Regions from separate parts of the Homo sapiens genome. Here all the other regions are linked to region 2. Evidence: promoter capture Hi-C in 16 types of primary human blood cells and fetal thymus (Javierre and others, 2016). All regions are on one chromosome and are shown on one strand. The core of a region is centred on a gene start or on the middle of the fragment in contact, and the rest is flanking DNA. Distances in the headings are between cores, read along the strand shown. Region 1 overlaps KLHL18 (kelch like family member 18). Region 2 holds the start of SETD2 (SET domain containing 2, histone lysine methyltransferase). Region 3 overlaps KLHL18 (kelch like family member 18). Region 4 overlaps KLHL18 (kelch like family member 18). Region 5 has its middle 39 kb from the start of PTH1R. Region 6 overlaps SETD2 (SET domain containing 2, histone lysine methyltransferase).

The links. The method cuts DNA at HindIII sites, captures the fragments that hold promoters and counts their contacts. A CHiCAGO score of 5 or more calls a contact.
Region 1: a fragment that was not itself captured here is called in contact with the fragment with the promoter of SETD2 in region 2 in 4 of 17 cell types (megakaryocytes, erythroblasts, naive CD4 T cells and 1 more); the score reaches 5.9 in megakaryocytes.
Region 3: a fragment that was not itself captured here is called in contact with the fragment with the promoter of SETD2 in region 2 in 5 of 17 cell types (megakaryocytes, endothelial precursors, M2 macrophages and 2 more); the score reaches 6.3 in megakaryocytes.
Region 4: a fragment that was not itself captured here is called in contact with the fragment with the promoter of SETD2 in region 2 in 2 of 17 cell types (naive B cells and total B cells); the score reaches 7.3 in naive B cells.
Region 5: a fragment that was not itself captured here is called in contact with the fragment with the promoter of SETD2 in region 2 in 1 of 17 cell types (neutrophils); the score reaches 6.2 in neutrophils.
Region 6: a contact is called between a fragment that was not itself captured here and the fragment with the promoter of SETD2 in region 2, in 1 of 17 cell types (endothelial precursors). The highest score is 7.3, in endothelial precursors.

Annotation. Positions count from the first base shown.
Region 1 is chr3:47,314,699-47,318,540 of GRCh38, reverse strand. All of the region lies in intron 1 of KLHL18 (kelch like family member 18), which reads right to left. Among named protein-coding and RNA genes, the nearest start is that of KLHL18, 34 kb to the right of the region's middle. The HindIII fragment of the contact is 1,155 bases long and covers 1,498-2,652 here.
Region 2 is chr3:47,161,785-47,165,485 of GRCh38, reverse strand. It overlaps SETD2 (SET domain containing 2, histone lysine methyltransferase), which reads left to right and starts at 1,373. Exons shown (of 21, transcript NM_014159.7): 1 at 1,373-1,632. The coding sequence starts at 1,562. KIF9-AS1 (KIF9 antisense RNA 1) reads right to left here and starts at 1,116. Exons shown (of 7, transcript NR_033373.1): 1 at 889-1,116. RefSeq lists silencers at 871-920, 971-1,720, 1,771-2,080. The HindIII fragment of the contact is 4,411 bases long and covers 1-3,330 here.
Region 3 is chr3:47,343,812-47,347,739 of GRCh38, reverse strand. KLHL18 (kelch like family member 18) reads right to left here. Exons shown (of 10, transcript NM_025010.5): 10 at 924-3,928. The coding sequence ends at 3,799. Among named protein-coding and RNA genes, the nearest start is that of PTPN23, 35 kb to the left of the region's middle. The HindIII fragment of the contact is 8,623 bases long and covers 1-3,928 here.
Region 4 is chr3:47,292,851-47,297,092 of GRCh38, reverse strand. The region is part of intron 1 of KLHL18 (kelch like family member 18); the gene reads right to left. Among named protein-coding and RNA genes, the nearest start is that of KLHL18, 12 kb to the right of the region's middle. The HindIII fragment of the contact is 200 bases long and covers 1,855-2,054 here.
Region 5 is chr3:46,914,595-46,918,283 of GRCh38, reverse strand. No RefSeq gene overlaps it. Among named protein-coding and RNA genes, the nearest start is that of PTH1R, 39 kb to the right of the region's middle. The HindIII fragment of the contact is 4,758 bases long and covers 1-3,689 here.
Region 6 is chr3:47,020,560-47,024,253 of GRCh38, reverse strand. All of the region lies in intron 18 of SETD2 (SET domain containing 2, histone lysine methyltransferase), which reads left to right. Among named protein-coding and RNA genes, the nearest start is that of NBEAL2, 43 kb to the right of the region's middle. The HindIII fragment of the contact is 1,916 bases long and covers 1,390-3,305 here.

The sequences.
Region 1 (3,842 bases), core at 826-3,325, 150 kb before region 2:
GGTATTTACACCCTTGTGCAGTCCCCTCCCACAACATGTCAGGGTTGGTCTATGTGACCAACAGAATATAGCAGAAGTGACGATGGTATGTCACATTCAAAGCTAGGTCATAAAAGGCACTGAAATTCCTCTTACCCTCTTCTTCTGGATCACTTGCTCTAAGAGAAGCTAAATAACATATCCTTAAGAGAGGCCCATATGAAGAAGACTGAAGACTTCTACAGCTACCTGAGTGAGCTTGGAAGAGCATCCTCCAGCTCCAGCCAAGCCTTCAGATGACAGCAACTTTGTGAGAAATGTCTAAGCTGCTTCTGAACTCCTGGCCAGCAGAAACTGTGAGATAATAAATACTTGTTTTAAGTCACTAAATTTTGGGCCGGACGCAGGGTGGCTCATGCCTGTAATCCCAGCACTTTGGGAGGCCAAGGAAGGTGGATTGCTTGAGGGTGGATCAGGAGTTTGAGAGCAGCCTGGGCAACATGATGAAACCCTGTCTCTACAATAAATACAAAAATTAGTGGGCGCATGCCTGTAATCCCAGCTACTTGGGTCACTGGGGCAGGAGAGTCGCTTGAACCTGGGAGGCAGAGGCTGCAGTGAGCCAAGATCGTGCCACTGCACTCCTGCCTGGGATGGAGTCTCAAAAACAAAAAAGTCACAAATTTTGGGGTAGTTTGTTATGCGGCAAAAGATAACTATTATATTACTAATCTAATTCCTATTATGGAAGATTAAGAATTTGTCCTGATACCTTTCTTCATGTACTATCCCCTACACTCTCCCTATCTTTCCAATATAATTAGGTCAAATTTTGGTTAAATTAATATGAAGAGTTGCATTAAGTCTATGTAAATATTATTTGTAGCCAAGCCATGCTGTATACTGTCAGTATATATTTCCTTTTTGTATAATTTTTCTTTTCCCTAGAGCATAAAACTCTGGTTAATATATTCAGTCAGGTACTCTATCAGTTGTTTGTTTTAAGTTGTCTGTTTCTTGAGACATTATCTACTGGAACTCTTCCTGGGAATTCTGTTTCCCTCACCTATACTAACACCCCCGTTTCCTGAACCCCACGTAGTCCTCTTTCTTATTTATTCACTTGTTCTGGTAGAAAGTGTCTTTTAGGCTGGGCATGGTGGCTCACACCTGTAATCTCAGCACTTTGGGAGCCTGAGGCGGGTGGATCACCTGAGGTCAGGGGTTCGAGACCAGCCTGGCCAACATGGTGAAACCCCGTCTCTACTAAAAATGCAAAAAATTAGCCCAGCGTGGTGGCAGACACCTGTAATTCCAGCTACCCGAGGTGCTGAGGCAGAAGAATCACTTGAACCTGGGAGGCGGAGGTTGCGGTGAGCAGACACCGTACCACTGCACTCAGCCTGGGCAAGAAGAACGAGATTCCATCTCAAACAAATAAAAATGTGTCTTCTAGTAGAGCCTCATAAGAAGGGGTCTATGTACAATGTCTGAAAATGTCTTTACTACCCTCAAGCTTAGATAATAATTTAGTTGGTTAAAAAATTCAAAGTTTAGACTTTTTTCCTGTCAAAATTTTGAAAGTATTGCTCCATTGTCTTCTAGTTCTTTTGTTTTTAGAGATGGGGTCTTACTCTGTCCCCCAGGCTGGACTTGAATTCCTGAGCTCAAGCAATCCTCCTGCCTCAGTCTCCTGAGTAGTTGAGACTATAGGCATGCTAGTGTGCACCTGGCTATGTTTAAAAATATATATATGTATATATATACACACATATATATGTATATATGTATATATACACACACATATACATATATACGTATATATGTATATATACACACACATATACATATATACGTATATATGTATATATACACACACATATACATATATACGTATATATGTATATATACACACACATATACATATATACGTATATATGTATATATACACACATATACATATATACGTATATATGTATATATATACACACATATACATATATATGTATATATGTATATATGTATATATATACATATATATGTATATATGTATATATATACATATATATGTATATATGTATATATATACATATATATATATTTGTACAGACAGGTCCTGCTTTGTTGCTCAGGCTGTTCTCAAACTCCTGGCTTCAAGCAATCCTCCCACCTCAGCCTCTCAAAGAGCTGGGATTACAGGCGTGAGTCACCACACCTGGCCTAGTTTGTTGTTATTGAGAAATCCAATGCTATTTTGAATCCTAACTCTAAGTATGTAACTGTGCTCTCTAGAAGCCTTTAGGATTTTCTCTGTATTCTTGTAGTTCTAAAATTTCACAGTATTGTATCTTGGTATTGGTTTTCTTTTATTGTGCTGTATCAATCTACAGACATTATTTCAGTTCTGGAAAAATCTCTTTACACCATTTAATCCTTGATAATTTCCTCCCTCCTATTGTAATTTTTTCTCCTCAGAAATTTCTATTAGTCAGGTGTTAGATTTCTTGGAATAATCCTCTAATTTTCTTATTGTTCTTCCTCACTTTCCATCTCTTTCATTTGGTCTATCAGTGAGGAAACTTCTTCAACCCTATCTTACAATCTTTCTGTGTTGTAGGTTTTTATACTGGCTATCATATTTTTAATTTCCTAGAGTTCTTGTTTTCAAAAGCTTCCTTTTTAAAAGAATCCTGTTCATCTTTCATGAATGCAATATTTTCTCAAATCTCTCCTGAGACAGTATATAGTTACAACTTTTTTTCTTCTTTATCTCTCTGCTTTTACTGTTTCCTGAGATATTTTCTCTTCCAATTGTTTTGATCTCTGTCTTCTATGTTAGAGGTTTTCTTTAAATGTCTGGTGACACTTGGCTAGGGGGTAGGCTTGTTGATTTGTGGGCTTCACATTAGGGTGATCAGGCAAGAATCGGCCATTTGATTGAGGACCCCTAGAAGTATTCAGTATCTTCAGGACTTTTTCTCTGGAGTTAATTTTATCAGAGCACGATCTTCCAGTCTCTTGCAGGGAAATATCTGTCGGCCTACAGATATTCTGGAAACTGGGTCTAAGAGGTGGATGGTTCTACCATGCACTACTGATAACTCTTATCTTAAAGCCCTTCTTTTCAGTTTTGTTCCATATTGCACCCTTTCTCCTATGCTTGGTGTGCCTGATTCGGAGCCTCTGGTTCAGTATCTAAGACTAAACTTCCTATCTCCTGAGAGAGTGGGGGAGGGGGTGCAGGCATCTAATTGCCTTTCATACAGACTTCCAAGTAATCTTCCTGTTTTCAGTATTTGGTGTCTCCAATTCTGGAACAATTCCAGGGTTCTACACTAGAAATCCTCTTCCTTCTCAGTTTCTCCCCCGGGAGGCACTTTCAGTTCCTCTGGCCCACTAAGTCTTCCACACATGCTCTCTGGCTTTAATATTCCATTGATTTCTCATTTGCTGATATGTCTTTCCCCTCTTACTACTATTTTAATGGGGTTATGGAGGGGAATGAAAGTTAAGTATGTGTTCAACTGGCTGTGTTTAACTGCTGTGCATTTATTTTTCATCTAGAAAATAAACAGAAGACAAAAGAACAAGCTGTATGTGCACCAACAGAGTGACCTGGTTTCAAAAAAAAACCAGCTACAGAGAAGATAGGCCTATCTTGGGATATGTTAGCCTGATTACATTTGAGTTCTGTATTCAGCTAAGGGGAACAACAAATTGGACCTTGTCTAGATGAGGAAGACCAAGATGGGCAAGAGTCTGAAAGCTACATCTTATAAGGAATAGCTAAAGGATAGTCTGGAAAAGGTAATTTAGGAGGAACCTGATAGTTGTTGTCAAATCCTAGAAGGGCTATCACATGG
Region 2 (3,701 bases), core at 124-2,623:
GTCTTGCTCTGTCGCCAGGCTGGAGTGCAGTGGCACAATCTGGGCTTACTGCAACCTCCGCCTCCTGGGTTCAAGCGATTCTCCTGCTTCAGCCTCCCGCGTACCTGGAATTACAGCCGTGCGCCACCACGCCCGGCTAAATTTTGTATTTTTAGTAGAGATGGGGTTTCGCCATGTTGGCCAGTGTGGTCTGGAACTCTTGACCTCAGTTACTCCGCCCGCCTCGGCCTCCTAAAGTGCTGGGATTACAGGCGTGAACCACCGCGCCCGGCCCACTTTCAGTTTTTAACCACTGTTTCTCAATTGGAAGACACATCCTTTCCTTTCCGTTACCAATTGCTGGTAAAATCCGATTCAAAATTCTAGTGGAAAAACAACAGCAACAACAACACAAAAAACGCTAACCCTATGAACCCCCAATGTCAAAATGATCTATCGCCAAAAACTCTTCAGCGTCTAGAAAGTTTAGCTATTGGATTTACGCGTTCCTATCTCTCCTTCCAAAAATAACAACTCGTAGCTCTTTCAAGTTATTCTACTTAGTCTCATCTTATCATTTCTGTAGGAAAGTGATTAATACCCTTTTTTTCATGACATTGCCTCTAAGGCCCCAAGAACCACACAGGAGAGGGGAGCTGCCGCCTTGGAGACTTCGGGTGGGGGCAGAGCGCCGCGCCGAGGTGGAGGTAGGAGCCCCGAGGGCACAGCGGGAAGGAAGGCGGAGGAGGCTGCCGGGAGCTCGGCCTCCGAGCAATCCCCCGCCTCGCTGGGCTTCCATGCTTGCTAAAGGGTCGAGATGAACGGGCAAGGGAGAGAGAGGGCGAGGAAAAATAAAAAAGAGAGGGGCGAGTGGGACGAGGGGCCCGGGAGCAGCCGCGGCCGCGTTACCTCAGAGCCCAGAGGCCTGGGGGAGGGGCCCTCGGCGCTGCCGCGGACTCCGGGGCTCCCGGCGGGCAGGTCCTGCAGGGCCGCGGAGCGAGAAGGCTGATGTCTCGGGTGTCTCGGGGAGTTCTCCCGACGTCGCCTGCTGTTTGTCAGTCGCCAGCTGTGACACGGTAGCGGGCCGGGTCACGCTGCCCCCGGCCGCCAGGCGGGTTGCGGGAGGGGTCGCGGTGCCGCCTCTCCAGGTCCGGTCTGGCCCACATCACTGGGGCCGGGGGTTTATTGTTCCGGAGAGCCACAGGCACGGTCGGCCTGGACCCGCCGGGCAGTGTTCCGCTCTGCCCGTCCCGGCCTGGGGTCAAGCCAACAGCTGCAAGGCACGCCGACTGGCGGCAGATCGGTGGCCCGTGTGTGTCTCTTTAAGGGGCCGGGCCTGCGAAGCTGAGGGGCGGGTGGGGTGTGCGTCGCTCCCGGTGTGAGGGTGAGAGGGAGAGAGCGGCTGGCGGGCGTCCGAGGGAGGGAGGGAGCGACGAGCGAGGTAGCGACGCGGGCCGCCCCTGCCGCCGCCGCCGCCGCCGCCGCCGCCGCCGCGGTCGGACCTGCGGCCTCCTCCCCTCCCCTCCCCCGCGTCGCCCTGCTGCGGGGAGGGGGCTCGCGTCGCCGTCTCCAGCCGCTCCCGATGAAGCAGCTGCAGCCGCAGCCGCCTCCGAAGATGGGGGATTTCTACGACCCGGAGCACCCGACCCCTGAGTAAGTATCAGCTCCGCGGCCCCCCGCTGCTGTCGGCCGCCTTATCCCCAGCCGAGGGCGGCGCGTCCTGACGGGTGGCGGCGCGGGCCGGCGCGAGGAGTAACAGGCCCACGGTGGCCTCGCGCGGTCGGTGTCGGGAGCAGGCCCGCGCCGCCACTTCGAGCCGCTTGGCCGGGGCCGCAGCAGGCCCGCGGTTGGGCCCGGCGTTGGCGCCGCTGCTCGTGTCGCGGCGGCGGTTGGGCCGGGCCGGTGGGGGAGGGGCGGCCACGGTCCCTACGGTTACCGCCGTGTCCGCACCGACCCGGCCATCCCGGGGCTCGGCGGTCCTCTCGGGCTCCTCGTGGCTCGTCCGGGCCCCGCTGCTAGCCAAAGGGCAGAGTCGGAGGAGCTGCCGGTGCCGGGCCCGGCAAGAGGGCGCCGGTGAGGGTAGGCCGCGAATCCCCGGGCTCGGGTGGAAGCTCGACCCGTCGCCCGACCTCCCCGCGACGGCGGCGCCTCGGACCGGAAGGGCCTAGCGCGGGTTGCCTGGCCCCCGGGCCGTGGAGGGGCCCGCGCTGCACTCCTGAGTTTGATTTTTTCCTCCTGGGAACTCGATCCTGGCCTTGCAGTGCTTCCGGATTCACATTGTGCACCTTTGGCACTTGGGTTTTGTAATGGCGAGGTTTGTGTGGTCCCGTTGTTGAGGTGACACCGGGTTTGTTTTTCCGCTTGAAAATGAAAGCCTCCTGAGGGACATACATTTTCTTGCAGGTTGTGAGATTTTCACACTTTCGGACACAATTTTCTTGGTAACAGGAATCTCTTACCCTAAACGGATGACTTTCTATTTCTTGTGAAGACTTGGTTAAAAACCAAGAATCGTTTGAGGATTCTCTAAAGAAGACAATGTTGTGGAAAACCGACACACAGTTTTGCCCAATAGTAATTTTTCAGTCTAGGACACCTTTACATTTCTCTTGAGGTCTGAATCTGCTGCTGTATCTGCTATCTCAGAAAGCCTGGAGTCACTTCTTTCCCTGAACCCTCACGAGACCATTGTTTTGAAAAGCCGTTCTTAAACACCGTTTGCTGGTGTTAGACCTAGGAATATACTATTGATTTAAAACTTATCGGTTGATAGGGGTTTCACATGAAACTGTCAAACTTTTATGACCAGGATGATTCCAAGAGCTTTGCTGTTTTGACACATTTTACCTTAGGTTTGCTCTGGCTCGTTTTTGAATCCCTTGCCACATCTTCTCACATTGGTCCAGAAATGTCTGGATCTTAATTGATAGTTTTGATTGCAACACAAACGGATTCTGTTGAGGTGTTGGTCATTTCTGCACAACAAGATAAATCATTATTTTGCTTTTCTAAAAACCCAACTCTTACTTGCAATAGTAAGTTAACATGGCTTTTTCCTTTCATGGGTTCTTGGCCATTGGTTAACATTACCTTAATTAGATTGGTCTTTTTGTTTTGCTACTGGCAGGGTCAGTTAGGTAAGATTGTTTTGATTTACTGCACCATCAGTCCAATTACAAAGCTCATGTTATAGGTTTTTAGTTTGAAAAACCTCAAAAAAAATTTTATATCACGATTCAATAAATGCTTATATAGCACTTGCTCTGTACAAAGTAACATGCTAACCCCTGAATAGGCTAAGTGCCTGCTTTCACTTCCTTTTACCAGGTTGTTTGGTGAAGTCCGGAAGCTTTAAGGATCACATCCTTACACTTCTTGGGGAAAAACAATTTTTCATAATATGTGGGAAAATGGACTCAGAAGTGCATCTTTGGTAGACCTGAGTGGGGAAGGAATCAAGAATGTTTTATGGTTTTACATGTTTTGGAGTTTTTATTTTTATTGCTTTAATGTAGTAGAAATCCACTGCTTTGGATTTCTAACAGTGATTATATATTTTTAAATTCTCGTGTATTTTTTCCTTTTTTTTTTTTTTAGAGGCAGGGTCCCACTCTGTCACCCAGGCTGGAGTGCAGTGGTGTCATCATGGCTCATTGCATCCTTGAACCTCTGGGCTTAAGCAGTCCTCCTGCCTCAGCCTCCTGGGTTGGGACTATAGGCAT
Region 3 (3,928 bases), core at 1,422-3,921, 180 kb before region 2:
CTGGTCTCAATTTCTCACAATGCCACTGGTTAGCTGGAGTCAGGTCAATTACTTGGCCATTCTGAGGCAGTTTCCTTATGCTAAAATGTTACCTGCTCCGTGGGGATTACTGAGGACCATGTGAGATTCAACTGATAAGAGTGTTTATATGTAAGACATGTCCTGGTGGGGTGTGTGTGGGAGTGATATGCCTTCCAAAAACTTAAAAAAATTAAGTTGCCATCCAGGAGTCCAATGGACAAGATTGATCACAAGCTGACTTTTGGAAAAGTGTGACTGAAGAGTTTCCCAACAGGCAAAACCACACTAACCACAGTGTAATCTTGGAAGAGCAGATCTGGAATGCGGCTGTATTTGGGGAAGTGAAACTGAAGATGGGAGTATAGTTCTCACACTGAAGAGCATGCAAATCACCAAGGAAACTTGCTCACGCCAGAATGCTGAGCTGCACCCCAGCCCTAGGGAACCTGTCTCTAGAGAGGGACTTAGGAACGGATCTGTGGTTTAAACATTTTCCAGTGACTTTTATGTGCACCAAAGTTAAAGCACCTCTCGCCTAGAGCATAAAAAAGGAGCTGGAGATGCTGATTCCAGGCAGTCAACAGGCAGCCACATTCCACTGGGAAACTCTGGAGTTTTAGGGCAGTGAATGGAGAAAAGGGGAAATCCGAGAGTAGGGGCGATCAGGACAGGCACCAATATGCAGTCCCAAAGTGCAAATGAAGTCTTTGCATATTTTTCACCAGAAGTGACTCTCATAAAATAAATCTCTCCAAAGACTACTTTTGCTGTACATCTGGCTTTTCCCTTATATTCACAGAAATATTCCCATTTTGTCCAATATATTTTTTTCAGTGAATCACAATTAAAAAACAAACATGTACTTCTAATATCTGAGAAATAAACCAAGAAAGGACAAGAGCTATTAGGAGTGTTCTCTTTATTTCTCTTTGGTTTCTTAACACAAAAGACATGCATTCTATAAATAAAAGGAACTAAGATTTTCTGGGAAACCATAAATTGGGAGGAATTCCCACAGTCACACCTCTGTGGTCAAGAGGATGGTCTTCAGCCCCCATCTGGCTGTAATCTCTGATGAAATCCAGAAGAGAAGGCCCGTGTGTTATCCAAGAAGGTGAAACACTCAAGGACAGTGAATGCCACAGTCCTCTGCTCAGAGCTGGGCTAGGCCCCAAGGCCCACTGAGTACAATGTCTACCCTATCTCCTTGTTACATCCTTTTTACAATATCCTTGGGTGATGCTTCTTTTCATGGGGCTATTGGAAAGGCTCCAACACCAAAGAGCCAGACCAGCCATTTACGAATAGCCATTCACCATCGGACTGAGGAACCTACTGGGAGAGTGTGAATATGTTGGTGTTTCCTGACTTGTGCTCAGAGCCCAGATCAAAACACTGGCTTGATCTTACTTTGAAACATCGACCTCAGGTGCAGCAGTGTAAATTCTACACCAGGAGGTGGGATTGGACTCAGGAAGTCCACTACAAGAGCAGCAGGCCATGGTAGAAAATGATCTGCCATACCCAGTGGCAAAATCTGGGCCAGTATCCTAAGGACCCACTCAGTAGCCCACAGACCGATTCTTAATACCTTCACAATCCAGGCTTGTTGGTGCTACTTCAAATTCACAAAAGAAAGGGGCTTATAATAAGACAAGCACTGATACACTCCTAACAGGAAATGCACACCCCACCCACCTTCCGAGTCTACCCCTACAGGCAAACCAGGAAGGAGGGAGAAATGCTGGAGCCCTACCACGAGCCCAGGTTAAACGACATCCGATATCAGATTGTTGAGACGTTAAAAATAAAAATATCATTTTCAAGTGCTTGTAGCAGAGGCCTAGCTCCTAAGTTGTAGGTAACAAAGGTACTTCCCTCTGAATACATGGCGATTGCACACACTGGTAAACCTGACGGTCCTGGGGTGGGGGAGACACCCCAGGCTCCACATTGTGCCTTTCTGAACAGGCTTCCAGGCCACCCCAGGCAGGCAGCAAAGGATAGGAAACCAAGCAGGTGGAGACTGGAGCCCTAAGACTCAGTCTTGGGTTACAGGAATTGAATCTTCTTTTAGTCTCTACTGGAAGAATTTTAGAAAACCAATTTTGGCAGCAGCAGTTGAAGGACAGCCCCACTGCCCAGTGCACTGGCAAGAGAAAATGTCCTCCTCTTTGAGTCCCGCTGTGCTACATTAGGTCCTATCCAGGGAGGAGGAAGCAATATGAAATCTTTCCAAAAGGTAAAGGTCATTTGCCAAGATTAGAGGAAGAAATATAAAATCTGTTCTTTGCAGCAGCAAGAGATTCTTTCGGCCTTTAGTTCTTTATGTCATAAAAGCCAGCTGTGCTTGAATGTAAAGGTCCACCTTGCTGGTCAGTCTGCCCAGGGCTGGAGGGAGGCCAGACTCTTGGGATTGGCGAGTGGATGGAGGAGCAGTGGAATGGCAGAGCAGACAAGGTTACCAGACCAAGCCCGCCCACAGCTGGTAGAAGGAAGCCCTGGTTAGGTTCTAGAGGTGCATATGGTCAACGTGCCCCAGAAGCATCACAATGAGGGAAATCATCCAAGAACGAGATTGATGGGCAAGTGAGAATCTGGCCAGACCTGCTGTTTCCTGCTGGTCAAAAAAGGAAGCAATGTTAGTGAGAGTGGGGAATCTGAATGAGCGCCATGGTGGCAGTAGGAGGTAATCACAGGGGCGCCTGGAGCCCCCAGCCACAGCTAGGAGCCCCCACCAAGAAGAGTGGCAGTAATTCAGCAGATAGCCTAACTCTCTACGCCTATGATTTTAAAAGTCCTCTGATGGTGGGTGAGAAGACAAACCCCATGAGCACCTTACTACAGGCCCAGTCAAGAGTGCACTGATTCCACACACACTGGGGCTCAGAGGGAACCCCCAGCTCAATGCGAGGCCTCAGGACCCTGGGATCCGAATGTGGGGTGGATACCGCCCTTCTCCAGTTAGACGATTTTCCATTTAAACATAGATTTGCCGTTAGTGTCTTTTATGCTTTTTTCTTCTTGCAAAATTTGTTCACATAAAAAAATTATTTTTCTTTCCAGTTTCTTTCAAGTGTTTCTTTGTTTAAATTTCCTTCAGTTTCTTTCAAGTATCTTTTTTTCCCTTCTGTTCTCCTGGACAGATCAAAAGGCCTCACTGAAATCCCAAAATTAGACATGGGGAAAACTTCTCTTCTCCCTGCTTACCCAGCAATGAGGACAGAATCCTTGGTGCCCCACTGTGGAAGAAGGAATGTGCCTGTGTGCAGCCTTCCACTGCTGTGGCCACACCATCTCAGGCAGGGAGAACGCTTGGGTCTGTCCTTTCGTCCCCAGCTACATCCCAGTTTCCAGCAGGCTTGGACACTGCAGCCTCCCCATGGCAAATTGGCCAGACTCGGCTGGAGAGCAAGCAGGCGATGGGGAGCATCAGATGGAAGGCCTTCTGTGAACAGCTGGCCCACAGAGAGGCGGTGGGTAGGAGCTGGGCCTGGATGGAGCCTGTGTTCATGTGGACCAGAAAACAGTTCCATGTCACCAGCTGCAGGATCCAGAGGAGCTTGTGTTCCATGCTGTGCATCTTGATGACCCAAGCCTGAAGGTCACAAGGGTGGCACAGTGGGGGAGGGCTTAAGCACCTGGAAAAACTGTACCTCCGGCGAGCTCACGTTTCGCCATCTCTTCTGGTCCACTGCCTCTCCTGAGGGACTGTTCCTGGAAGGAAGCGCCTATGTCTGTACCAGATCCCTGCCCCACCACATCCCATCCTCTGCCTTAGATGGTGAGGAGAGGGATGCAGCCCACACCGACCCCTCCCTCATGGCACGCCATGGGGGCCATGAATGTCCAGCAGTCTGTCTCTGGGTCATACATCTCCACTGAGCTTAGGTTTGACTGTCCGTCG
Region 4 (4,242 bases), core at 705-3,204, 130 kb before region 2:
AAAAGGACTTGGGGCTCCAGTCCCATATGAACAGCTGGCTAAAACATTCAGGCTGCTTCCCACTTCTTCTAAACCCTCCCCCCACTTCCTACTACTCAGATCCAGCAAGGTAGAATGGGAGCAGAGGAAGGGAGAGAAGTGGGCAGAGTCCTCAGGAACCACTGAACATGTAACTATACCAACTTCAACTGATTTGCAGGTGTTTCTTAGCAGTCTAGACTCCTCACCATGAAAATTTAAGGAGTACACAGTCTGTACTCAATCGACCTCTCCAATCCCACCTTCCACCTTGCTCCTCTATGTCTTACTTATTTAAGAAACACTGTAGGTGTACTTTCATGCCTGGGCCTCTGAACACTCTCCCCTGGCCTGGAATGCCTCTTTCCACTGTGCCTGTCTGTCAAAGTCCTATTCATCTTGCAATGTACCAACTAAATACCATCCTTTCCATGCAACAGTCACAAACCCTCAGAACTGTAAATATCAGCTACTCCTTTGATGTTCCCTTAGGCCTCTGGTGATGCCTATGCAGTTACAGAATTTATCAGACTCTGCCTTTTCTCATAATTATTAATAATTGATGCATAATCTATCTTCCCCACTCATCTATAAATGCCAAAGACAGAGGCTGACTCCCATTCACAGCAGGGTGTCTCATGCACCTACAAGCACCAAGCACAGGTAAATGCACTTATATAGTATGTTGACTGAAGAAGCATCTCAAACATAAGGTCAGGGGTTAGTTAAGGTAATTCAGTAAATACTTTTAAGTGCTTGAAACATGCTAAGAACTATACTAGGTAAGAGATGGCTCACGATTCAGGAGTTCAACATCTAGAGGGGAACAAAAACACTCGAACCATCTACATCCTGCTCAGACCAGTAAGGGGAGTAGGACCAATGTGTGGCGGCAATGCTTCTCAAACTTTAATGTGCACAGGATGTAAGAAGCACCAGATTCTAGTTCAGTAGGTCTGGGGCGGGACCTGAAATTCTGCACTTCGAACAGGCCCCCACCCAGGTGATGCTGACGCTATTAGTCCAATGACAACACTAAGTAATGAGGGGTTAAGGTGCAGTGGAAGAGGGGGAGATGAACTACACCTGGAGGGATATGAGAAGACTGTCTTCAGAGAGATGGGACTTCACACAACCCCCCACTGTGATAGGACAGAGCACAAGAAAGAGGGCATGGGTCCCTTTGAGAAAAGAAAACTTTGAAGGGGCCGGGCACAGTGGCTACACAGCACTTTGTGAGGCCGAGGTGGGAGGATTGCCTGAGGCCAGGAGTTCGAGACCAGCCTGGGCAACAAAGCAAGACCCTGTATCTACCAAAAAAAAAAAATTTTTTTTTAAATTAACTGAGTGTGGTGGCAACACACCTGTAGTTCCAGCTACTCAGAAAGCTGAGGTGGGAAGATCACTTGAGCCCAGGAATTCGAGGTTACAATGAACTATGATTGCACCACTGCACCAGCCTGGGCAAGAGCAAGACCCTGAAGAAAGAAAAAAGAAAAGAGGAGAAAGAGAAAGGGAAAGGGAAAGCAAGGGAAGAAAGAAAAAGGAAAGAAAGCAAAGGAAGAAAATATGGAAGAAAGCTTGAAGCATGGATACGGCTCTGCTTGGCAGATGTGAGCAGATACTCCAAGCCAAAGGAACACTAGAGCAAAGGCCCAGAGGAGGGGGAACACAGTCATGGAGAGATGGCCAGCTGATGCAAGAGGACACTGTGGGAAAGCAGGGTAGAATAGCAGAGAGGGGCCACATCTGCAGGACTCTGAATATCAAGAATACAGCTGGCAGTCTTAGAGAAGTCAACCAGAATGGCTGTCAACAACAGAACATGCTTAAGCTTCTCCCTCTGACGTCTGAGACAGCAGTGACTGGTGGATTTCTATGAGCAGCTTAGAATAATCAGAGATTCAGTTAAATCAGCAGTCCTTTCCTAAATCCTACAGAAAACTAGCCACCACCTGCTGCTCCTGCATTCCCATTACCCCTCAGATATCGTGATTACTTAAAATGCTAAGCCATATACACGGAAAACACAAGCTTTCTCAAACATGAGGTAGAGGCACGTTTTACAACCACCAAGAGCTGAGCAGCTCTGCTCGACTCACGGCTCCGCTGACAAGTTTCTAACCTCTGATTGTCACTGTGTGCAGAACAGAATTTCCTTCAAGAACAAGTCAGAATTAGTCTTCTGGCTCCGGCCATTATCATCATCTCTCCTAAACCGAAGGGGAAAGTGCAAGCAAAACGCAGTGCTGTCTTCATGAACCATGGAATATGCATCCTAACTTTCTATTACCTTAGGTATACCTCTAACACCCTGCCCTGATTTTTTATTCATAAATACATAATTATTGATTGGTTTCATTCATTCATTCACAACGTATTTACTGAGCCATACCATACACATGCAAGGAACTGTGCTGGGCTGGGTGGCTACTTCTCTGACCTCGTGTCCTTCCACTTTTCTCCTTGGTCACTCTGCCCTTATCATTCTGGCTTCTTGCTGTTTCCCCAAAACACCAAGTGTGCTCCTGCCTCAGGGCTCCGTGCTTACTGTTCCCTCTGCCTTCAGATATCCTCATGGATTGCTCCCTCACTTCATTTAGATCTCTATTAAGAGAGGCTGGCTCCTGCTTTACTTTTCTTCATGGCACTGGTCACCACTGGACATCTTCCATCTGTTTATTGTCTGCTACTCCACTAGGATGTAAGCTCATACTCAAAAAGGCTTGGCCTACTCTGCTCACTGCTGCACCCTCAGCACCTAGAACAGTACTTGGCACATGGAAGGTGCTGACATACCTGCTGAGCACCCTGCTGAATGAAAACGAAATGAGAAGCCACTCAGAGCAGAATAAGATCAGAATTAAGCCTGGGGAAAAACAATCTGTTAGTAGCTCATTCCCTACAATGAAATCTGTTTTTCCCTAGAAAAACAATCTGTTAGTAGGCTCATTCACTAGAAGGTCGGTAAGAATTCTCTCAACATGCTAGTAAAGTTAAAGAAATCCTGGGTTAGGTAAAAGATGAAGAGGATCTCAATTAGGACAGTGGTTTACTGAGCAGCTATTATGTAGATACCTCAGTAAATAATTCAGTCACAGCCCTGCTCTTGTGGAGTTACAACACTATAAATAGTTATGTAATTACTATTGTAATAAGTGTCACAAAATACACATAAGAGAGGATGAGCCAAAGACAATCCCAGAGTTTCAACTGTGCACGACTAGATGGATTGTGTGCCCCCCTAACACAGAGGAAACAAAAGATGGGCAAGGGTGTTCACTTTAGACATAATGAGTATGAGGACCCACAGGACAAATGGGGTAGAATTATAGGTTTGAAAGCTATTTGTAATTTGCAGATGATGCCAACACACCTTTACTTGGAAGACATGTTAGCACGGCTTGTTTTGCTGGTCCTCAAAATAGCTCTGTCAAGGTTACACGACATTTACAGCTTACAAACCAACCCAAGAAAAATAAGCTCACAACACATCTGCATCTCCTAAATATGTACCTCTTAGAAGGCAATTCCTTTTAAGTGACCATTTGAAGTGCAGCTACAGGGCTGAACTAATACAATTTGACTCTTAACAGCTGAGGCACCAAGTACAAAAATAAAGAGTAGGAAAGATTACTCCTTAGCATCAGATGTTTCTAATCATTGGGTTTCAATAGAAAGACAAATTGTTTTTAGTGTCTACAGTCACAAAGCACTATAAGCAATCTCTCTTGCCCACCTGGTAACAAGTCTTCTTGAGCTAATTATCTTTTGAAAATTGGATTAAATATAAATAACATACAGTTTACCATTTTAACCATGTTCAAGTGTACAGTTCTGTGGCATTAAGTACATTCTACAACCATCACCACTATCTGTCTCCAGAATTCTTCATCTTCCCAAACTGAAACTATACCCATTAAACAGTAACTCTCCATTCCCCCTCCTCCCGGCCCCTGGCAACCATCATTCCACTTTCTGTCTTCATGAATTTGACTATTCTAGGTAGTTCATATAAGTGGAATCACACAACATTTGTCCTTTTGTAACTGGCTTATTTCACTTAGTGTAATGTCTTCAAGGTTCACCCATGTTGCAGCAGAATTTTCTTCTTTTTAAAGGCTGAGTAATATTTCACTGTATGTATATACTTTTTTTTTTTTTTTTTTTGAGACAGGGTCTCGCTGTTGCCCAGGCTGAAGTGCAGTGGTATAATCATGGCTC
Region 5 (3,689 bases), core at 414-2,913, 250 kb after region 2:
AATTTGTTACTGTGCCTAATTTATAAATTAAACTTTATCATAGGTATGTATGTAAAGGGGAAACACAGCATATATAGGGTTCAGTACTCGCCACCATTTCGGGCATCCACTGGGGTTGGAGGTCTTGGAACATCCCCCCATAGATAAGGAGTGACTATATAGCACTATAGTGTATTATGGCAATTAAAAACCTTGTATCTGTGAATTAGACAAAGGTGAAGAGACAATTAGTGAATGGGAAGCTAGATCTGAAGTTTTCCAAAATGCAGCCCAGCAAGATAAACAGTGATAATGTAAAGCAAGTGGCTGAGAGACATGGAGAGTAGAATGAAGAGATCCAACGTAAAGTGACGGAGTTCCAGGTGGGAAAAAAAAAAAATGAAAATGAGGCAGAAGCAATATTTAAAAACTGGCTGAGAACTTTCCAGAAAAAATCACCAATTCACAGATTCAAGAAGACCAGTAAGTCTCAGGCAGGTTAATAGGAAGAACTATACATCCAAATGTTCTGTTTCTTCATCTGGGTGATGATTAGGTATTTTTACTTTATGAATATTCATTGAACTGTATACATGTTTTATGCCCTTTTTGTATGTTTATTCTAAGTAAGCAAATTTACTTAAAAAAATTCTACACTTTTTATTAATCATCAGTTGCTACACATAAATTACCCAAAACTCGGGGGCTTAAAATAACAAACACTTATTACCTCAGTTTCTGTGGGCCAGGAATCAGGAGTGGCTTAGCTGGGTAAGTCTAGCTTGGGGTCAGTTGTGAAGCTGCACTCATCTGAAGGCTGGACTGGGGCTGGAGGATCTGTTTCCAAGATGACTCATGGGGCTGTTGATTGGTGGCCCCTGTGTCTTGCCACATGGACCTCTCCATCGGCCTGTGTGTTCTCAAGACATGGCAGGTGGCTTTCCCAGAGTGGCAGTCTAAGAAAGAAGGCAGGAGGGAGCGTTGTGGGGCTTTCTTATGATCTGGGCTTGGAAGTGATATTCTGCTACATTCTGTTTGTTAGAAGCAAGTCACTACGCCCAGTCGACACTTAGAAGAATTAGCTTCCACTTCCTGAAGGGAGGACTGTGTAAGAATTTGTGGACTTATTTAAAAACTACCACATACCTAATCACATTGTAATAACATTAAAGAGCACAAAGACCAAGAAAATACCTTAAAATCAGAGAGAAAGGACATACTACCTTTTGAGGAGCAACATAGCAGCAGATATCTCAGCTATAACCAGTGTAAACAGGAATGAAAGAAAGTTGTCATCCTAGAATTGCATACTCAGGGAAAATATGAGACGTGTTTTTTGTTTTTTTGCAGAGATGGGGTCTCACTATTTTGCCCAGGCTGATCTTGAACTCCTGAACTCAAGTGATCTGCCCACCTTGGCCTCCCAAAGTGCTGGGATTACAGGCCTGAGCCACCGCACCTGGCCTAAGATGTTTTTAGACCAACGAAGTCAGGGATTCTGTCACCAGCAGACTCTCACTAAATGAAAATCTATTTTGGGGTAATGAAAATGTTCTAAAAGTGATTGTGGTTGCACAAATCTGTGAATATGCTGAATATGCCAAGAGCCATTGAATTGTACACTTTAATGGGTGGGCTGTATATGTATAAAGTTGTTTTTTAAAAATGAAATAAGCATTCTCCTTTTAAAAAAATCATAAAGGATATTTTCAGACTGAGGGGCACAATCCCAGATGGAAAGTCCAGAGAAAGGAAGTATAAATGTAAATAAGCACTGACCTTGTAAAACAAAAATGTGTTGTGGGGTAAAGCAGGGGCTATTTAGAATACATAACAACAATGGTATGTAAGTTCAGAGGTAGGAGGTGGTTGGGGTTACAGTCCTTGAAGACGCTCACTTAGGAAGAGGGATAAGACTAGGAAACAGGCCTCTTGACATTTCTGGGGTAACCTGAAAAGAGTAGAAACAGAGTGTACCACTTTCAGAGGAGATGAGAGAGGAAAAAAAAAAAAAAAAACCAGAATGGGAAAAAAGTAACTATCCAAAAGAAAGCAGAGAGAAAAGGTGGATTGAGTAGTTGAATCCAGATATATCAGTAATAGCAAGGTATTAGACTGCTTTTCTTTCTTTTTTTTTTTCCTTTAAACTCAGTTTGCTGAGTTTAAAAAAACCTGAAGCCGACTGGGTGCAGTGGCTCATGCCTGTAATCCCAGCACTTGAGAAGGCTGAATTTGCTCGAGTCTCAGGCAGATTGCTTGAGCCCAGGAGTTCAAGACCAGTCTGGGCAAAATGGTGAAACTCCGTCTTCTACAAAAATAAAAAATAAAAAAATTAGCCAGGCGGGGTGGTGCCTGCCTGTAGTCGCAGCTACTTGGGAGGCTGAGGTGGGAGATCATGTGAGCCTGGGAGTTCTGAGCGACAGAGTGAGACCCTGCCTCATAAATTAATAGAAACAAAGATTAATGGGACTAGAAAAGCTCTATCAAGCACAGGATCAACAAAAGAAAGTGGAGGTGGCAGGAGTGAGGCCAGGCAAGGGAGACTTTCAGAAGTGTCATTAGCTACACCACTGTACTGTGGAGCAGTGGGACCTCTCACCCACAGCCATAAGAGTGTGAAATGTGTAACCACGTTGGGAAAGTTGAACATGTGCACGCTGGGACCCATCAGTTGCGCTCTTAGTGCACTAGAAAACTTGCACATGTACACCAGGAGACAGGGACAGAAATGCTTGTAGAAGCATTGTTTGTAATAGCACGGGCACATGTGTGCACACACACACTAAATCAAAGCCAGAATGTGGTAATAATAAGTTGTCATTCTGAAAGTGTGATGTTCCATAGCTGTGAGAAGAGCTACAGTCATGTGCAACAAATGGATAGATGTTGAAAGAAGCAAGTCACGGAAGAAATAGAGTATGAGCCATTTGTGTGACGTTCCAAACAGGCGGAGTGAGACAATGTAAGGACACACGCAGGTGGTAAGGCCAGGGCAGAAGAGCAAGGTGGTGATCGTCAACTTCAGGCTTGTAGTTAGCTCTGGAGTGGGGCCCTTTGAGATAATGGCAAAGTGTTTTTCTTGGCTTGAGTGATGGGAATTTATTCTCTATATGTATTTATTTTTATACAACTTGCTGTATATGCTGTATTTCAACACACAGGCTTATTTTTTTTTCTATCTATCTATCTATCTATCTATCTATCTATCTATCTATCTATCTATCATCTATCTATCTTTATTTAGAGATGGATTCTCTGTCACCCAGGCTGGAGTGCAGTGGCACGATCTCAGCTCACTGCAACCTTCGCCTCCCGGGCTCAAGCAGCTCTCCAACCTCAGCCTCTCAAGTAGCTGGGACTGTGGCTGTGTGCTACCGTGCCTAATTTTTTTTTTTTTTTTGTGATGAAGTCTTGCTCTGTCGGCACGCTGGAGTGCAGTGGTGCGGTCTTGGCTCACTGCAACCTCCGCCTCCTGGGTTCAAGAGATTCTCCTGCCTCAGACTCCTGAGTAGCTGGGACTATGGGCACACGCCACCATGCCCAGCTAATTTTTGTATTTTTAGTAGAGAGGGGGTTTCATCATGTTGCCCAGGATGGTCTGTATCTCTTGACCTCGTGATCCGCCCGCCTCGGCCTCCCAAAGTGCTGGGATTACAGGCGTGAGCCCGCGCCATTTTTTAAATATTTTTAGTAGAGACAGGGTTTCACCA
Region 6 (3,694 bases), core at 1,098-3,597, 140 kb after region 2:
TGATCCACCCGCCTCAGCCTCCCAAAGTGCTGGGATTACAGGCGTGAGTCACCACGCCTGGCCTTTTTGTATTTTTAATAGAGATGGGGTTTTGCTTTTTTGGCCAGGCTGATCTCAAACTCCTGGCCTCAAGTGATCTGCTCGCCTCGGCCTCCCAAAGTGCTGGGATTATAGGCCTGAGCCACCACATCCAGGCTATATAAAATTTGTTTAAGAAATAAATAATGTTGAAAATTTCCCATCTTGAGAGAGGGAAATAGGCATACGGATTCATGAAGCCTAAAGGATCCCAAGTAAAATCAACCAAAAGAAGAATACCTTGAGACACATTACAGTTGTCACTCTGTATCCATAGGGGATTGATTTCAAGACACCCTATCATGGATGCCAAAGTCTAAAGATGCTCAAGTCCCTTATATACAAGGGCGTAGTGTTTGTATGTCACCTACGCACATACTCCCATATGCTGTAAATCACCTCTGTGTTGCGTATAATACCCAATACAATGTAAATGCTATATAAATAGTGGTTATACTGCATTGGGGTTTTTTAAAATTGGTTCTTATTTGTATTATTTTTATTGTATTTTTTTTCAATATTTTCTATCCATGGCTGGCCTACAGATGCAGAACACCAGCTGTACTAAGTTTTTATTATTTTCAATGATCTTAACCTTTTAAAAATTGACATGTACAGGTTCATGTGCTGCAGAGCTTAGGTTGAATTGTGTGGATAGTGTTTATGATGGCTCAGCTTCTCCTCCTGCTTCTGGATTCATGCTGCCACAAAAGATGTAGTTCCTCACTGAATGATTTACATTTTATGTTCTAAACAGTATTTTTTTTTTCTTTTTTGAGACAGAGTCTCGCTCTGTCACCCAGGCTGCAGTGCAGTGGCACGATCTCAGCTCACTGCAGACTCCACCTCCCGGGTTCAAGCAGTTCTCCTGCCTCAGCCTCCCGAGTAGCTGGGATTACAGGTGCACGCCGCCGCGCCTGACTAATTTTTGTATTTTTTAGTAGAGACGGGGTTTCACCATCTTGGCCAGGCTGGTCTCGAACTCCTGACCTCATGATCCACCCGCCTCAGCCTCCCAAAGTGCTAGGATTACAGGCATGAGCCACCGTGCCCAGCCCTCTAATCAGTATTTAATTAAATACAGGGAGAGAGAAGTATTAGCTGGGTATGTCCTGCTCTGCCTTTGTCAGGACTCATTTCTGTAACTCAAGCCATACCCTCTTGGTTCCAAGTCACATGGGCTTTGTGACATAGTCATGTCAATATTTATAATAAAGGGTGATTCTGTTGTGTTACACAGCCTGTGTATGGTTACCAGAACTGCCCAATAAGCTTAAGGCCATTGCCAACTAATCCAGAAGGTCTCAAGCTTCACCTTGGGTAATATAAAGGTACTCAGGCCTGCCTTGTCATAATCAGAACAGATTTCCTAGGAATCCAAATGTGCCACAGGTGAAGGCTGACAGCAGGGTCAGCTTCTAAAGGCAGTAAGCTCTGGCTTTCTGCCAGGCCCTTTGCCTGCTCATTTCATTGTGTACTCTTAACTGTCCACGGCCTCACATAGATTTCCACCAGAATCTTTAATTGACTGATACTCTATATAAGCCAACACAGAGAAAAGGCAAACTGATTATTGTTTATTGCTGAGGATCTGGAAGCACTCGCTTTTTTATGTATCAGAGCCCCTACCCTGTTCTCTGGTGGTTTCCTTAAAAGTGCTTTTTTTCTTTTTGGAGACAGCATTTCACTCTGTTGCCCAGGCTGGAGTGCAGTAGCATGATCACAGCTCACTGCAGCCTCAACCTCCTAGGCTCGCGCAACTCTCCAACCTCAACCTCCCAAGTAACTGGGACCACAGGCATAGCCACCATGCCCAGCTAATTTTTCAGTTTTTTTATAGAGATGCTGGTCTCGAATTCCTGGGCTCAAACAATCTCCCCATCTTGGCCTCCCAAAGTGCTGGGATTACAGGCATGAGTCACTGAACCCCACGTGCTAAATTTGTGTGTGTGTGTGTGTGTGTGTGTGTGTGTGTGTGTGTGACAGATTGTTGCTCTGTCTCCCAGGCTGGAGTGCAATGGCATGATCTCAGCTCACTGCAACCTCCACCTCTCCCGGGTTCAAACGATTCTCCTGCCTCAGCCTCCCAAGTAGCTGGGACTACAGGCACAAGCGATTCTCCTGCCTCAGCCTCCCAAGTAGCTGGGACTACAGGCACGCGCCACCACGCCCAGCTAATTTTTGTATTTTTAGTAGAGACGAGGTTTCACCATGTTGGCCAGGATGGTCTTGATCTCTTGACCTCGTGATCCGCCCTCCTCCGCCTCCCAAAGTGCTAGGATTACAGGCGTGAGCCACCACACCCAGCCTTACCTGCTAAATTTTTAAATGGGACTTTTTTGGAGTGGGGGGTCCTAAGGTTGTTCATGTCAATAACAAGTGCTGTCCTCAACTCAGACTCTGGTTACTTTGCCTGGCATTAGATTTGAGTAAATGTTAGCCAGTTTCTGAAATTATTTCCCATGCCATTTGCAAATCACAGACCATGAAGAGAGGGTTTCATGAATTTCAGTACTCTCAAGAGTATTCCATTTTGGTTCATGATTTCCATGATGTAAGTCTGGGGACCCCTCATTTTATCATTTCCTTTCTCGATCCCAATTGCTCAGCACTCAGGAGGACCAAGAAAGCTCCTAGACAGAGCTCAGTGGATTGTATTCTATAATTGTGTTTTTAAAGGCCACCCCCCACCAATCCCCCGCCAACCTCATCAAGTCAGGGATTAAATTATAAATCTATTAAAAGTGCTTTGGGTTCATTTAGCTTTGTGAGTGCATACCCTATCCAGAGTGAAACAGGACATTTCTATTTACATAGTACCCTCGCTGAGAGCATGGCCTCTTCTATAGGACCCAGATCTTTGAGATACCCAGACCTGAAGGGGCTTTCTGTACTCATTTCTGTTGCTGCTGACTTCTGAGAGCTACAAGAGAGTAGCTGGGGATGTGTTGAAGTTTTCTTGACTTACTCAAATAATTCTTGATCCCTTGCTACCTAAGGTCTTACTGTGGAGCATACTCATACCATCTACAACTGGGGGAAAAAAAATAACAAAATCCCAAAGCAAAACACTTGAAAATAGACTTAACTTATATTATTAGCATTATTTTTGCTTAGTTTTGTTTTCTTAAAAAACAAATTGGATCTTTATATTCTTTTTACTCTACCCCCTAATCTCCCCATACAGCTACATGAAGAAATTGGAAAAATAGAAAATACGTAAAGCTTTTATGACACAGCAGAGAAAGTTGATTTGTAACAGCCTAAAGCCAAGGGAGTGCCACCTTTCTCTGGAGCTAGTCCAGCTGCTTTAGAACCAGAGCCTTCATACTGTTTATGGAAATGGAAGAAGCAGAACCAGGAGATGGGTGGGGAGCAGGAAAATTATTCTACCCTGTGCCCCTAACAAAAAAGTGTGAAGTACCTATAATATCAACTCCAGCTTCTAGATCCATTATGAAGTAACTTATATTTGGAGGGGAATGCTCATAATTATTATTTTCCGTGGAAAAGCACATTTACTGGGAAGGGGCCTGATGGCTAGTGGTGGGCAAAGGTATGGGGAGATGGCCTGCATGACAGGTGCTCTGAATACCAAAGCTTCCAACTCATCGCC